Regions from separate parts of the Homo sapiens genome. Here region 1 is linked to region 2. Evidence: promoter capture Hi-C in 16 types of primary human blood cells and fetal thymus (Javierre and others, 2016). All regions are on one chromosome and are shown on one strand. The core of a region is centred on a gene start or on the middle of the fragment in contact, and the rest is flanking DNA. Distances in the headings are between cores, read along the strand shown.

What was found. Contacts are between HindIII fragments. The CHiCAGO score rates a contact against its expected background, and 5 or more counts as called.
Region 1: a contact is called between the fragment with the promoter of SCN7A here and the fragment with the promoter of SCN9A in region 2, in 1 of 17 cell types (fetal thymus). The highest score is 6.9, in fetal thymus.

The regions. Positions count from the first base shown.
Region 1 is chr2:166,492,627-166,499,621 of GRCh38, reverse strand. It overlaps SCN7A (sodium voltage-gated channel alpha subunit 7), which reads left to right and starts at 5,373. Exons shown (of 26, transcript NM_002976.4): 1 at 5,373-5,654. The HindIII fragment of the contact is 2,984 bases long and covers 2,924-5,907 here.
Region 2 is chr2:166,373,992-166,380,831 of GRCh38, reverse strand. It overlaps SCN9A (sodium voltage-gated channel alpha subunit 9), which reads left to right and starts at 4,888. Exons shown (of 27, transcript NM_001365536.1): 1 at 4,888-5,135. The HindIII fragment of the contact is 2,904 bases long and covers 2,393-5,296 here.

The sequences.
Region 1 (6,995 bases), core at 4,124-6,623, 120 kb before region 2:
TTTGCGCATGGCATGCACATATTCAACTATTTCATGTATATGCACACAAGTAACAATGGGACTTCCAGATAAGTGACAGATTACAACTTTGTAATTATCTGTGTAATTGTATTTTATTTTTTCACTTGAAAATATACTATCCTGGGCTTCTGCCAATCCTGGCTGGGAATTACTTGAGAGAGAATTTTTGGACATGAAATTGGTAATGGAATGTATTATGTTCAGGAACATTTTGAACACAAACTCCAGATGTTCCTATGATTTTTGGAATCTGTTTTAGGGAACAAAAAGTATTAAATAATATAGGCATAAAATGTCCAACTTATATTATGAATGTGTTTTCTCAATGAGATGTTTGACATATTTTCTCTGCTGATTTCTAATGTTAAATTGACTTTTTTTTTCTAAGATTTGTATTGACTATGCCTGACTTTGGAACATATTTGAAAAGTGGAACTGGGACAATGTGTTTATGTATATATCTTAGGAAAATTGAAACCAGTTTAGAAATTTGTCAATGAATTATCAATAGTCTGGAAGGATTTTGTCTACTTTTTTGTAGAGAGGTCCAAGTGACTCTTATCATCTATGACCTGTTCTTTCATTTCTGAGAATCCCTAAGAAACAAGTTGTTTATTTTTCTCCTCTGTTATTTGCAAACAGCTCTTTACAGTTTTGTTCTGTTTTTTTCACGGATCAGGTACAGATTCTTATAGTTCTGGAACTTAGGACAGGGTTGAAGATTGTGGTAAGGTTTTCTAGAGTAATTCCAAGGAAAGCAAACACGTAAGTATTAATAGAATCATAAGTTGAATGTTGTACACATAAAAACAATGACAAGAAACTGATTCTGGGCAGTACTGTGTTTGTGCAGGCATGTAAGGATGATAAAAAACTGAAAGGAACAAATAATATGTATTTCTACATGTTCTCATGAGTGGGAGCTAAACAATGGGTACATATAGACACAGAGTGGAATAAGAGACATTGGAGCCTACAAAAGGTGGGAATGTGGGAAGGAGCGAGGGTTGAAAATTTTCTCAAGTGAGGGTTACACTAAAAGCCCAGACTTCAACACAATCCATATAAGACATCTGCACTTGTAGGCCCTAAATGTATCATTTTAAAAAAATAAATAAAAGATAATAGGTATTTGCCAGCAATATTGCCCATTGCACTTGAAAAGATAACCTGCATTTGCAAAAGAATATATGAAGTATTAAGAATCATAAAAGGCCAGGCATGTGGCTCACGCCTGTAATCCCAGCAGTTTGGGAGGCCGAGGAGGGTGGATCACTTGAGGTGAGGAGTTCAAGACCAGCCTGGTCAACATGGTGAAACCCCGTCTCTACTAAAAATACAAAAATTAGCCAGGCATGGTGGCACACGCCTGTAATCCCAGCTACTTGGGAGGCTGAGGCAGGAGAATTGCTTGAACCTGGGAGATGGAGGTTGCAGTGAGCTGAGATCGCACTACTGCAGTCCAGCCTCGGTGACAGAGCCAGACTCTGTCTCAAAAAATAAAATAAAATAAAATAAAAAATCATAAAATTCAAATGATTCAGAAGACAGGATTCTACAATATGATTCACATTATATTCATCTTTCAATAAATCTAGGCTTGCATTGTGACAGCGAACCAAAATGAGTCTCTATTTTATATTATCCTATAATAAGGCTGTGGGAAGTATCCATTCACACTCTTGACACTGATGTGTTTGAGGTAAGAATAAACAACCCTTATTTAAATGGGCTAAAAGGAAAGTAAAGTCTCCCAGGGCCTATCTGGTTCAAGTGCAGTGTGATAGAGGAGGTTTCTCTCTTGACAAGGCAGAACATCTGGGTCTAGATCTTCTACCTTCTGAATGCATTCCAAGAAGCACAGCTCCCTTTTTTGCATTTTATTTTATTTTACTTTATGGTAAATTAATAAATAATTGTATATTTATGGGGTACACTGTAATGCTTTGATTTGTATATACATTGTAAAAAATTGAATCAAGCTAATTAACATATCCATTGTCTCACCAGCTTATCCTTTTTTTGTAGTATGTTAAAAAATCTATTCTTTAAGCAATTTTCAGATATACAATGTTATTTTTAGCTGTAGTCACCATGCAATGCAACAGATCACTAAAATGTATTCATCCATTCTGAGACTTTGTACTCTTTGATCAACATTTTCTATTTCCTTCTCCCTCCCCTTCCCAACCTCTAGAGACGACATTTCTACTCTGTTTATATGAGATTGACTTTTTTAGTTCCACATATAAGTGAGATCATGTGGCATTTATCATTTGGTGCCTGGATTATTTAATTTAACGTAATGTACACCAGTACCACCTCGTCTTGAATGACAGAATTTCCTTCTTTGTAAAGGCTGTGTGGTACTTAATTTTGTATATATACCACATTTCTTTACCTAGTTATCCAGCAATAAACATTTAGGTTGCTTCCATATCTTGGCTACTGTGAATAATGCTGAATTAAAGTAGGACTGCAACTATCCTTTTGACATAGAAATTTAAATTCCTTTGGATATATACCCAGGAGTGGGATTGCTAGATCATATGGTAATTCTATTTTTAGTTTTTTGAGTTTACTATTTTCCAAAATGGCTGTACTAATTTACATTCCCACCAGCACTGTACAGGGTTCTCTTTTCTCCACATCCTCACCCACACTTGTTATCATTCATCTTTTTGATAATGTCAGAATGAGATATCACCTCACACATGTTAGAATGGCTATTATCAAAAATAGCTTAGGTTTGAGGCTGAGTGCTTTATTTCTCTGCATCCCTTGGTATTCCCCATAGACATGACTGGACTTTCTTATTACCATTTCTTTTCAGGCAGGCTCATGCTTTATATCAAGATTCTGAAACCAGAGGAAATTCTCACACCTGTATATTATAGAAGCTTTAAAGCATCCAAGCACCAGGTTTTAAGAATGAAACAGATCAACAAACAATTCTCATGTTCTTTAGATTGCATGTGATCTATGGTCTATTCCTATAGTGAATCTCCACATTTTCCCACAAAGCATAGAGTGGATTAGGTATGAATAATGCTCAATACTTTAGCAAATATACTGGGTACCTACTCTATTACATCCTCTCTTACAAGTGCTATTGTAGAGCAGGAAATAAATAAGTCTCAGCTGTCATGCAGAAAGCAGTCTAGTGGAACAAGACAGAAAATAAACATATAAGCAATAGCTATTTCACAGGCCAGATAAGCACTAAGAAGAAATACAAAGCAGTTGCTAACTACAATAGGATTCAAATTGTGAAAGTGGGAATTGATAGCAGAGATGATTTGGAGAAGAAGATAATCCATTAAGGATGAAATCAGAAGTTAGGCTGTTGGATGCTTCATCCAAATAGTTGTTGGTATTCAAATGGATGAGAAAGTTTTTAAGAAGGAAAGCAAGAGTTTGAATGGAGGGAAAGACTGTCAACCACAGAATAAATTCTTAATAAATAAGAGTGTCCATAAAGGCAGAACATAATGGCTACCATGTAGCCAGGTAGAAAAAGATGATGAAACTGGAGAACATATCTCCAAAGAAAGAGTTTTGGGTTTGTTTGAGTGTGTTTTGGGAGAGTTGTTTGCTTGTCTTTTTATACAGGGTTTTGTCAACTCTGGATGTAGAGACTTTTTTGAGAATTAAAACATCGAGTCCATCCACACTTCTGACACTGACATCTCTGAGGTCACAATAAACAGCTCCCATTTAAACAGACTGAAAGGAAGCTAATGCCCACAGTGGCGTATCGAGTTCAAGTGTAGTGTGATACAGCCAGCTTCTCTCCTGACACAGAAGAGTATGTGGGGTCTAGAGCTCCCACCTACTGAATACATACTTAGAAAGTAGAGTTTAGAAATATGCTTATAAAGTTCTTAAGGCAGAAATGTTGAAAACAGACCCTCCACTATGTAGTTCCTCCTGCTGAGAAACTCAGTGGGGGAGGAAGGATCCTCAGCTCATTATTAGGGGCACGATAATTGCCAAAACTTTTCAGATCCAACCTGGTAATATTACATAACCGTTATATAACCGTAGTGCCAAATATTTGTCCCAAAACAAATATTTGTTCCAAAACAAGAAAATGGCTAGCTAACTCAGAATATAAAACCAACACCATTAGTTTCCCATCTATTTGCCTCTCATTTATGTGATTGGTTTGTACAATATCTTGGGATCAACTGCCTGTTCATTACACATTATAAAAAGCAGTACTTCTTTTTATTTATTTTAAATATCACATGGAAACTTTGAAATATTTGATATTAAGTTCATTAAATTTATATTGTGTTTGAATGTACAGAAAGGTGTGTAGAATTTTACTGGGTGAAAAGGGATATATGTGTCAGACTGCTCTAAGGGAAGGTTTTATGCTCTAGAAAATTCATTTGCATCATCACCAGAGTGTGGAGAAGAGAAGCCTGCAGTCAGTCAATTGTCCATTATAAAGAAATCAAGTGAATGTTTGATGCTACAAAATAATTATTGCTAATTATAGATGTGATCAGGGTATTGAGTTAAAATCTTAAGTTCTTACCATTCAGAGACATATGCTGATATATTTTTGAAGTAAGTGATGTGATGTGTGCATAAAATAGGGTTACAAAATGAAGGTTCTATGGTGTGGCCTTTGGGAAGAAGGTGCAACCCCTCTGGCCTTCACTCCCAAACTACACTGTATTGCCGCAGTTTTCTAAAATAAACATAATTTTTCCTCTGTCCCTCGTGTTTCAAATCACTAGAGTGGGAAACTGATCCAGAGTAAAAGCCAGCTCCAGCTGACTCTTGACTCTCCTAAAAACAGCTACACACATACTCACACAACAACAGGATTACAAACTCTTAATTACAGCAATGTCCAGATTTGAATGCTGCAGGCTGACAATTGCCCCTCTAAGTTCTGCTGGGGCACCTAGGCAAGGGGAGAGAGAATACAACTGGAGGTTAAAGAACCAGAGTTTTCTGTCTTCCTCTCCTCTCCCTCATTTTCACTCTCCCTTCCCCCTCAGCTGCACCGCGCTGCTCCTTTTCCTCTCCTCCTTGGATGTTCCCTAGCCCCTTCATTCCTTCACGCTCTGCAGGCCCTCTCCCCTCTACCCCTCCTCATCAGCCCCCCGCTCCTCTTCCTCCCTCCCTTCCCGGCAGCTGCTGGAGGAGACGCCACAGCTGCTGCTGTTACTGCATCTGCAGCAGGTCTCTGTCAATATCACCCGCCCACGCCCGATCTGGATGCTGAAGTCGCTCACTGGCCTGGAGATTAGGGCGGGGGAGAGAGTGGAGTGGCTGGGAGAGGGGAGGGAGGAGTGGAAAGGAGACAAAAACAGCTTCCAAGCAGCGGGCGCGGCTCCACTGGACATCTGGGTAGGAGGGGTCTCTGGGTCAGTGGCTGGAGAGTCGCCCCAGTGAGTCGGTGTCTAACTGGCCATTTAGTGGGGCCCATTTACTGCAGAGCCACAGCTGGTGAGGACAGACGCCAGCCTAACAGCAGCTTCTGTACAACTAGAGCTCAGAAAACCCGAGAGATCCGTGGAGAAAGAGAAGCCCAGGAGGAGGAAAGGGCTCCAAGGAGCCCTGCTCCTGAAGGGTCCCTCAGGCACTGGTGGAGACCTGTCGCTTCGTAGCAAGTAAGTGCCTTTTTCTTGCTGCTGTGTCCAGTCCCAGAATGGTGATAGCCGCTATCCGCTGCCAGCCTTTCCCATCCACTCCCACCTGCCCCATCCCATACACACCCTTAGGGTCCCCAGCAGGAGGACAGAGATTTGAAATTGTGGACGTGCATTAGGAGAGTTACTTCAAGAGTATACTTCAAGAGCAGCCGTGGTCTGTGGGTGTTTGCATGGCATGTGCCGTCAGTTTTCTAATTCCATCAGGTAAGCTTCTGAAACCAACATTCTCTGTTAGTGTAAAATTCTAGAAACCCTATATGACAATGACTTACATTACATGGTACAATGATAGTATAAAATGGAGGAAAGGTTATGCAGATTGTTGTACACTTCTTCTAAGAATCCTATCTCTTATTCTAAATAACAGAGATTTCAAGATTGATTTTCCCAAAGGAATAGATAGTATAAAAGTAGAGGCATTGATGTGATTGGCAGTGGTGTGCTCAGTTTAGTCAGTTGGGCATTTTGGTATTGACTAGATCAACAGAGATTGTTGTTGTTGTTTTTGCATTGTTTTGCTCTATAAAATGCATCTCTTCTGGAGGTTTTCTTTTAGAAGTGATAGTGTGACTGGTTGTGTTAGCTTCAAAACTTAGAACATTGGTCAAAACAAGACAAATGATGAGTGCATGTGGAATGACACACCGATGGGCCCCTTTCATTAACGAAAATGATGGGTTCCAGTTTGGATATTGGACTGAAAAATATCTTGAAATGGGAAAGAGTTTGGGTGGTGCTTCTTGTGGATACTTTACCCCACTGCTGTTCATTCAGGAGAGCAATTTATGGCAAAGTAGAAGGAAAGTGGGCCCTGTAATAAACAGAATCCTGGGCACCATACCTGCTATGACTAGCCTTAATTAAAGATTCTATAATCCAGCTGCTGTTTTTACAAGTAAGACCTATAAGGAGTAATTTGCTGAGGCTACCTGGCAAATCAGTAATTGAGCGGGAAGTCCAATGAACAAGTCTTTGGGATTTAGAACTACAAAACTTGATTTCAATTTTTGTACAAATTAAGCCAATTATTTAACTTGAGTAAGCTTTATTTTCTTTATTTATAAATGACACTCCAAAAAGTCCTGACAAAAACTAATTGACAGAGATGATATAAAGGGTTTATGAAAGTACCATATGTGTAACTGTTGATTACATAAGGGATTATTCTGTGTTTTTATCTACTTCACTATTCTGATTTTCCTTCTAAGTCTGATTCAATATAAGCATACAGAGGGCTTTGACATGCATCTCTAGAATGCACTAGAGGAAGTGAAATTCAAATCCTTTTCTTGCCACCTG
Region 2 (6,840 bases), core at 3,639-6,138:
AATTTTTAACCTGCTACTTAAGATTACAGTCATGTCAGTCATGTGCCAGATAACACTTCAGTCAAGGACAGACTGCATATATGATGGTGGTCCCACAGATTATAATACTGTATTTTTACTGTAACTTTTCTATGTTTAGGTATGATTAGACACAAAAATACCACTGTGTTACAATTGTCTCAGTACAGTAACATGTTGTACAGGTTTATAGCCTAGAAGCAATAGGCTATACCATAAAGACTAAGTATGTAGTAGACTATACCATCTAGGTTTGTGTAAGTACTGTCTCTATGATGTTAAAATTGCCTAGTGACACATTTCTCGGTACATATCTCCATTGTTAGGCAATGCATGACTGTAGTTCTTTCTCTGGCTTAGGGTATTTTTGTTTTCACACAATTGCAGAATGCTGTCAAGCAAAAACTTGAGGTCTCTTTCTACAGATCTCTGGTATACTCTCTGTTCAGCTCCCTTGTCTTAGGTGTCCTGTCCCAAATAAACAAATTCTAGCTCCCTCAGCCTATCAAACTCTTATTTTCTGGCTCTTCATGTTTCCATCTTCCTGAGCTGTGGTTTAGAAACTTTGTGTAGTATGCAGAGACAATCACAGCCTCACTTTCTTTCTCTTCTCTAGGGATCACTGTCTTATAGATAATGTTGCCCAATGACTGAAAACTAGTGTTTCATATATTTTGTCCCCTTATCTAATGGAAGACTTCTACAAGGGAATGTCGATAACAATAGTTTTGATCAAAAATAACTCCACAGAAAGCACATTATCAGCAAAACCATTGTTAGGGTAAGGGACCCATCAGTGGACTATGACACTGGGGAAAATTCTTCAGGAATAAGTAATCAATTAATATACTTACTAAGCATCTACTACATGCAAGACAAAACATTTATTTTTCTTCACATCAGTTTTCTGGCCAAAAAAATCCAGACCACGTCAAATTAGACGAGCAAACACTCAGATGCCAATACATTTAGGAAACCTCTTTTCTTCAGTTGTTTCATTAAGCATCATTTGCCCATCTCATCACTCCAATCTATGTCTGATAATCTTCATTGTATATTCTATTTCTTTTTAGTTATAATTTGAAGTTCTACTTTTGAATCCTACTTTTTAGCTATGTATACACAAAACTTGTAACTTTATTCTTCTATTTTCACAACAGAATAATTGTTTTTTCTTACTTTGTAATATTGCCGTGCAGCCAATATTAGAAGGTAAAAGTATTTTTCTAATCCTATTTAATTAGAGAAAAACAAACTCTTTCAGTATTGTATTAATTTTATTGCCTTAATATTACTGTCTATTTTTTGTTCTTCCAGAAACTTCTACAGTTTTGAAAATTGCAGTGGCAATTGTGGAAAATACAGAAGTGTGGATATCCATTTATTTCTCACTAAGGGAAATAAAATTCTTATTCCTATTCTGGTATGGATTGTATGATGTTAGTTAATTTCCATGACTCAACATTTCCACATTTTTCTATCTAAGTTACGGAAGGTCAGTTGTAAATATGATTAGGAACTTATTGGTTATTGGCTTTTTCAACCAGACAGGCTTTGTCTGGTTCCCTTAATTCAAGCCTACCCTTTAAATTTTAAACGTACCATCTACTTATGTCTACATCTGACGCTGTCATTTAGTGTTTAATGAACTCTCAAGGCTGTGCAGTGTAGTATTTAATAAGAAATTTGGAAAGATACTTTTTCTGGGTTTAAACCAAGATAAAATTTCTAGGGCTGCCAAAAGAGCAAGAAAAACACAAACAGCTAATGTTCTGTAGACTAGGAATGGCACATAAAAGAAATGGAAAGGAAATAAATAGTTGGAACATGAAAGAAAATTGGGAAAATAATGAATAATATACCTAATGCTTTGCCTATGAGCTCACAGGGAAAATCCTGCAAGGGATCCCTCAGTCAGACCAAGAGGATTTTATTTTTGGTTTTATCATTTTCCAGGATTTTATGTTTGAAGATCTCTAACAAGAACCTAGATATATTGAGAATAGTAAGTTCTTGTTAATGGATGCTTAAAGTGGAATATATAATATGTTATATATTATATACAACATATGTATTATACATAACATATATTATAACATAATATAGTAATATAATATATAACATGTTATAATATATAGGTTATATATAATGTATAATGCATTATATATTCCACTCTAAGAATGTATCTAACATATGTGTTATTCTAGATATAACAGCAAAGGCATAATCTATAAGAGACATAATTGCTAAGGTGAACTGCATTAAAATTAAAAACTTCTGCTCTGCAAAAACGGACAACAAGCCAGTGTTAGATAAATATTTGCAAAAGACACATCTGACAAATGACTGTTAACCAAAATATACAAATAAAGCTTAAAACTCAACAACAAGAAAAGAAATAACCCAATGAAAAAAATGGGCCATATACCTTAACAGACCAAAGAAGATGCACATATTGCAAATAAGCATATAAAAAGGTGATCCACATCATATATCACAGGGGAAATGCAAATCAAATAACACTTATGGTATCAACAATGGGCATGAGATACCACCACATATGTATTGGAATAACCAAAATCCAGAACACTGATGATATCAAGTTCTGGCCAAGGATGTGAGGCAACAGGAACTCTCATGTATTGCTGGTGGGAATGCAAAATGCTCCAGCCACTTTGAGGACAGTGTAGCAGTTTCTTTAAAAACTAAACATACTCTCACCATATGATCCAGCAATTGTGCTCCTTGATGTTCACCCAAAGGACTTGAAAACATGTCCACACAGTAACCTTCACAAAGATGTTTATAGAGGCTTTACGCATAATTGCTAAAACTTGGAAGCAAACAAGATGTCCTTCAGTAGGTGAATGAATAAACTATGGTACCACCAGTCAATGGAATATTATTCAGCACTGTAAAGAAATGAGCTATCAAGCTATGAAAAGCCATGGAGGAAAACTAAAAGCATATTGCTAAGTGAAAGGAGTCAATCTGAAAGGGCTATATTCTGTATTATTGCAACTATAGGATATCCTGGAGAAGGCAAAACTATAAAGACAGTAAAATGATCAGTACTTGCCAGGGGTTGAAATGGGAGATGAATAAGTGGAACACAGAGAATTCAGGAGAGAACTGAAATTACTCTGTAAGATACTGTAATGGTGGATACATGTCATTATATATTTGCCTAACCCCATAGAATGGACAACACCATGAGCTAACCCTAAATGTGAACTACAGACCTTGGGAGATAATGAAACCTCAAAGTAAGTTCATTAATTTTAACAAATGTTTCATTCTGGTGGGGAATGTTGATAATGGGGGAGGCTATTCTTGTGTGGGAGTAGCGGTTATGTGGGAAATCTCTGTACCCTCCCTTCAGTTTTGCTGTGAACCTAAAATTGCTCTAAAAATAAAATTTTAAAAATAAAAGAATGTGGCATTGCTTGCATCTAATAAAAAAGACCATTATTCCTATTGCAGTTGAACTCTTCTTCCTATATCTACCACCAATCAGGGAAGAGAAGGCGATTTGTCCAGGATATGGCACTGAGAATTATCACAAGTGAGCTAGTTCACCTTCATTGCACAGTCTCAGTCACTGAAGTTTCCTTCCTTCAATAGCACATCTTACAAGTCAAGAATGTAAGGTCCAAAGCCCCAGGACAAATCTCAGAAGCAAAGAAAGCAGCAGGGAAAAGTAGACCCTGGGATTTGATTTCCTTCCGGTTATCTCTAAGCATCATTTCCATGATAGAAGGTGTGGAAGCAAATAATAAAAGTGCCCGTCACTAGTGTTTATCCTGCAAAGTGGTCTGCCCTTTTGAGAGGCACCCTGCCCTATGGCCATCCTTTGATTTCTTCCCTTGGTGGAAATTTCCTGTTTCTCTTTGAGAAAGATAATTCAACCCTGTTTCCATTGTTCTTCCTCCCAGGCTGCTGTAGGAAAGCGCACGCACACACTCCACACAAAATGAATTTTTAAAAAATTTATTTTCACAGTCGCTCCTACCAGCTCTGAAATTCAGAACCCATATGACTGATGGCATATTCAGATAATCGGGTCCCAGGTCTGGAAAAGCAGCCTTTTCCCCACGTTTCTTTCCCCACCTAGGACCTCCTCTGATTCTTCACTGCATCTTCGAAAGAAAATGTATTATTTGCTTGCCTGGAAGACGCTGCAATTCAATTGATTTTATATATACATATATATAAAGAAAACAGAAAACATAGCCTAGATACCGGTCTTGAGCGTCACCGCCCCACTCGCGGTTGTGAGCAAAGCCCTACGGAAGAAACCAATTCCCAGCCTAGACTCTTCAGAGCCCAAGGTCGGGGAGGCGCTGGCCTGGCGGTGTTGTCTGGCTCCCCAGCCACTGCCCCAGACTCAGGGCTTTGCCATTGGTCCCCACCTCCTCTGCTCCGGAGTTTTTCTCCAGCTCCCCACCAAGCCACACAAAGTGACTTCTCGGAAACATTAGCCGATTCTGCTGAGCAGGAAGGGAGGAAAGGGATGATGGGGGCGGGGGTGAGATAAGGGAAGGGCTCTTCTGGCTGCTGGACACACACACACACACACTCAAACACACACACGCCCCACCCAATGGGTGGCCGTGGATGGCAGGTCGTGCAACCCCCTCCTCCGCCTTCTATTAGCGCATGGTGCAGAGGCTACAGCGTCGCCACCACCGCGCCCCTAGCTGGGTCCCCGCCCTGCGCCGCCCGCAGGAGTGGAGAGAGGGAGGGAGGGAGGGAGCAAGGGGTGGGGACCCGGGCGCGCTGGGAGGAGTGGAGGAGGCAAAGCGGCGCAGCTGCCCTCGGGGAGGCGGGGCTGCTACCTCCACGGGCGCGCCCTGGCAGGAGGGGCGCAGTCTGCTTGCAGGCGGTCGCCAGCGCTCCAGCGGCGGCTGTCGGCTTTCCAATTCCGCCAGCTCGGCTGAGGCTGGGCTAGCCTGGGTGCCAGTGGCTGCTAGCGGCAGGCGTCCCCTGAGCAACAGGAGCCCAGAGAAAAAGAAGCAGCCCTGAGAGAGCGCCGGGGAAGGAGAGGCCCGCGCCCTCTCCTGGAGCCAGATTCTGCAGGTGCACTGGGTGGGGATGATCGGCGGGCTAGGTTGCAAGTAAGTGCCTTTTCTTTTGCTGCTTCTGTGGGGAGGGGAGGAGAAGCCCTCGGTCTTTCGCCCGTGCTCGCCTCAACCGCCACACCCACCTGTGTCTATTTTCACATCTCGGTTCTGGAACCCTGTATTACGCCACCTGGAAAGAAGAGAGGGGAGAAGCTTGACCGGGTGGTTCCAGCAATGGGAGGAAGAAGGGCTGGAAGCGTAGTTATTTCGATAGCTGGGCAGCTCCTGTGCGGTTTTGACTCTGTGGGTTTGCTGCCAGGTTCTGAAACTGTGGAAAGGAAGGGTAGCAATGCCTGGTGGTTTACTGTCTTTTATTTCTGTTTACGCTAGCAGAGTTGTTAGATGGACTTCAATTCAAGGGGCAGCTCACATTTTTTACGAGCAAAAAGCATGTGCTGTATTTCCCATCTGCAAAGCTGAGCGTGCAGAACCAGCTTAGCAGATACAACCTGTGGGGACAGAAAAGAACCCCGCACCCCTTAAGAGCACACAAACACAAATAATTGACAGGACAGCTCTGCCCCTATTTCTCAGCGCAGATTATTTATTTATTTTTTCGAATAAGCACTTTATAGTGAAATTCAGAAAAGATGCAGAATCCTTTTAACTTTTTATCGAATTCAACTTGGGAAACTCATTTACTTTTAGGAAAAAATGGATATTTTCGTGCCTTATATTCAAGACAAAAATCAGAACAAGAAACTAGAAACATTAATGCCAGTTTTTGTGATTATAGTAAACATTTCACTCATTATTTTAGTTTTTTTTTTTTAAGTTGGAGCGTTCATAGATTATATCTACTCTGATGTTAAGAGCAATTTACATGAGAAACTTAGGGGGGTTTTTAAGAAGCTAGTGTCAGTAAGATAAAAGCCAAATCAAAGTAAGCTTTCAAGGAAGTGATAGCTTGTCAGTTACTGAATAGGAAGTCAGTGTTGGGAAGTTCAGTTCTTTTCAGAAACATATTTATTATTCTTTTCTATTTCTTCTTCCCTGTAGACAAGATAAAGATTTTCTTTCTCTTTCTTTCCTTGTTATTTAAATATATTTTATAATTTTTGCTTTAACATCAATATAAACCTATTTTATATAAACTGCAAACCAAATCCAATTATTAAACTGTTCATTTTATTGCAAATTCTTCAGATTTTTTCCACTATTTAAAAAAGTTTATAATTTTTTCTTATAATTATGGTGAGATTTTTTAAAAATTATTGATTAGTTTGAAAGCTAGTCTTATCTGATCCCTGTGTCGCAAATTTTCATGATTGTTAGACTAGCTTATCAACAACAAAACTCTAGACAGAATATGGTATTTGATGTAAAGAAGAATGTGCCCTCTATTTAGGCAACTGATAGTTTGGCTTAAGACAAGTTTTTTAAAATTTTGTAGAGGTTTAAAAGGAGGTTTCCTTAAGTAAGCCACTGTGCAGTTGTGGGACTCAGTGATGTGTTTTTACAGTGACTGGATATATGATATGCCTTGATTCCTATGGTGCAGGGCTAGGCTCACAGAGTACCTGATGCTTCTACAGAAGAAAGATGAGTCAGGTCTGGCTCTCTGCCAAAAGCATCTTGGGCCTCCTTTCCCCTAGGGCCTGCATATAATCATGGGAGCCCTTCTGTGGTAATGCTTCTATGTTTTTACTACCTGTTGCTGTGCTGAGTTTCAGAAGCAAAATAGATAAACAAATAAATA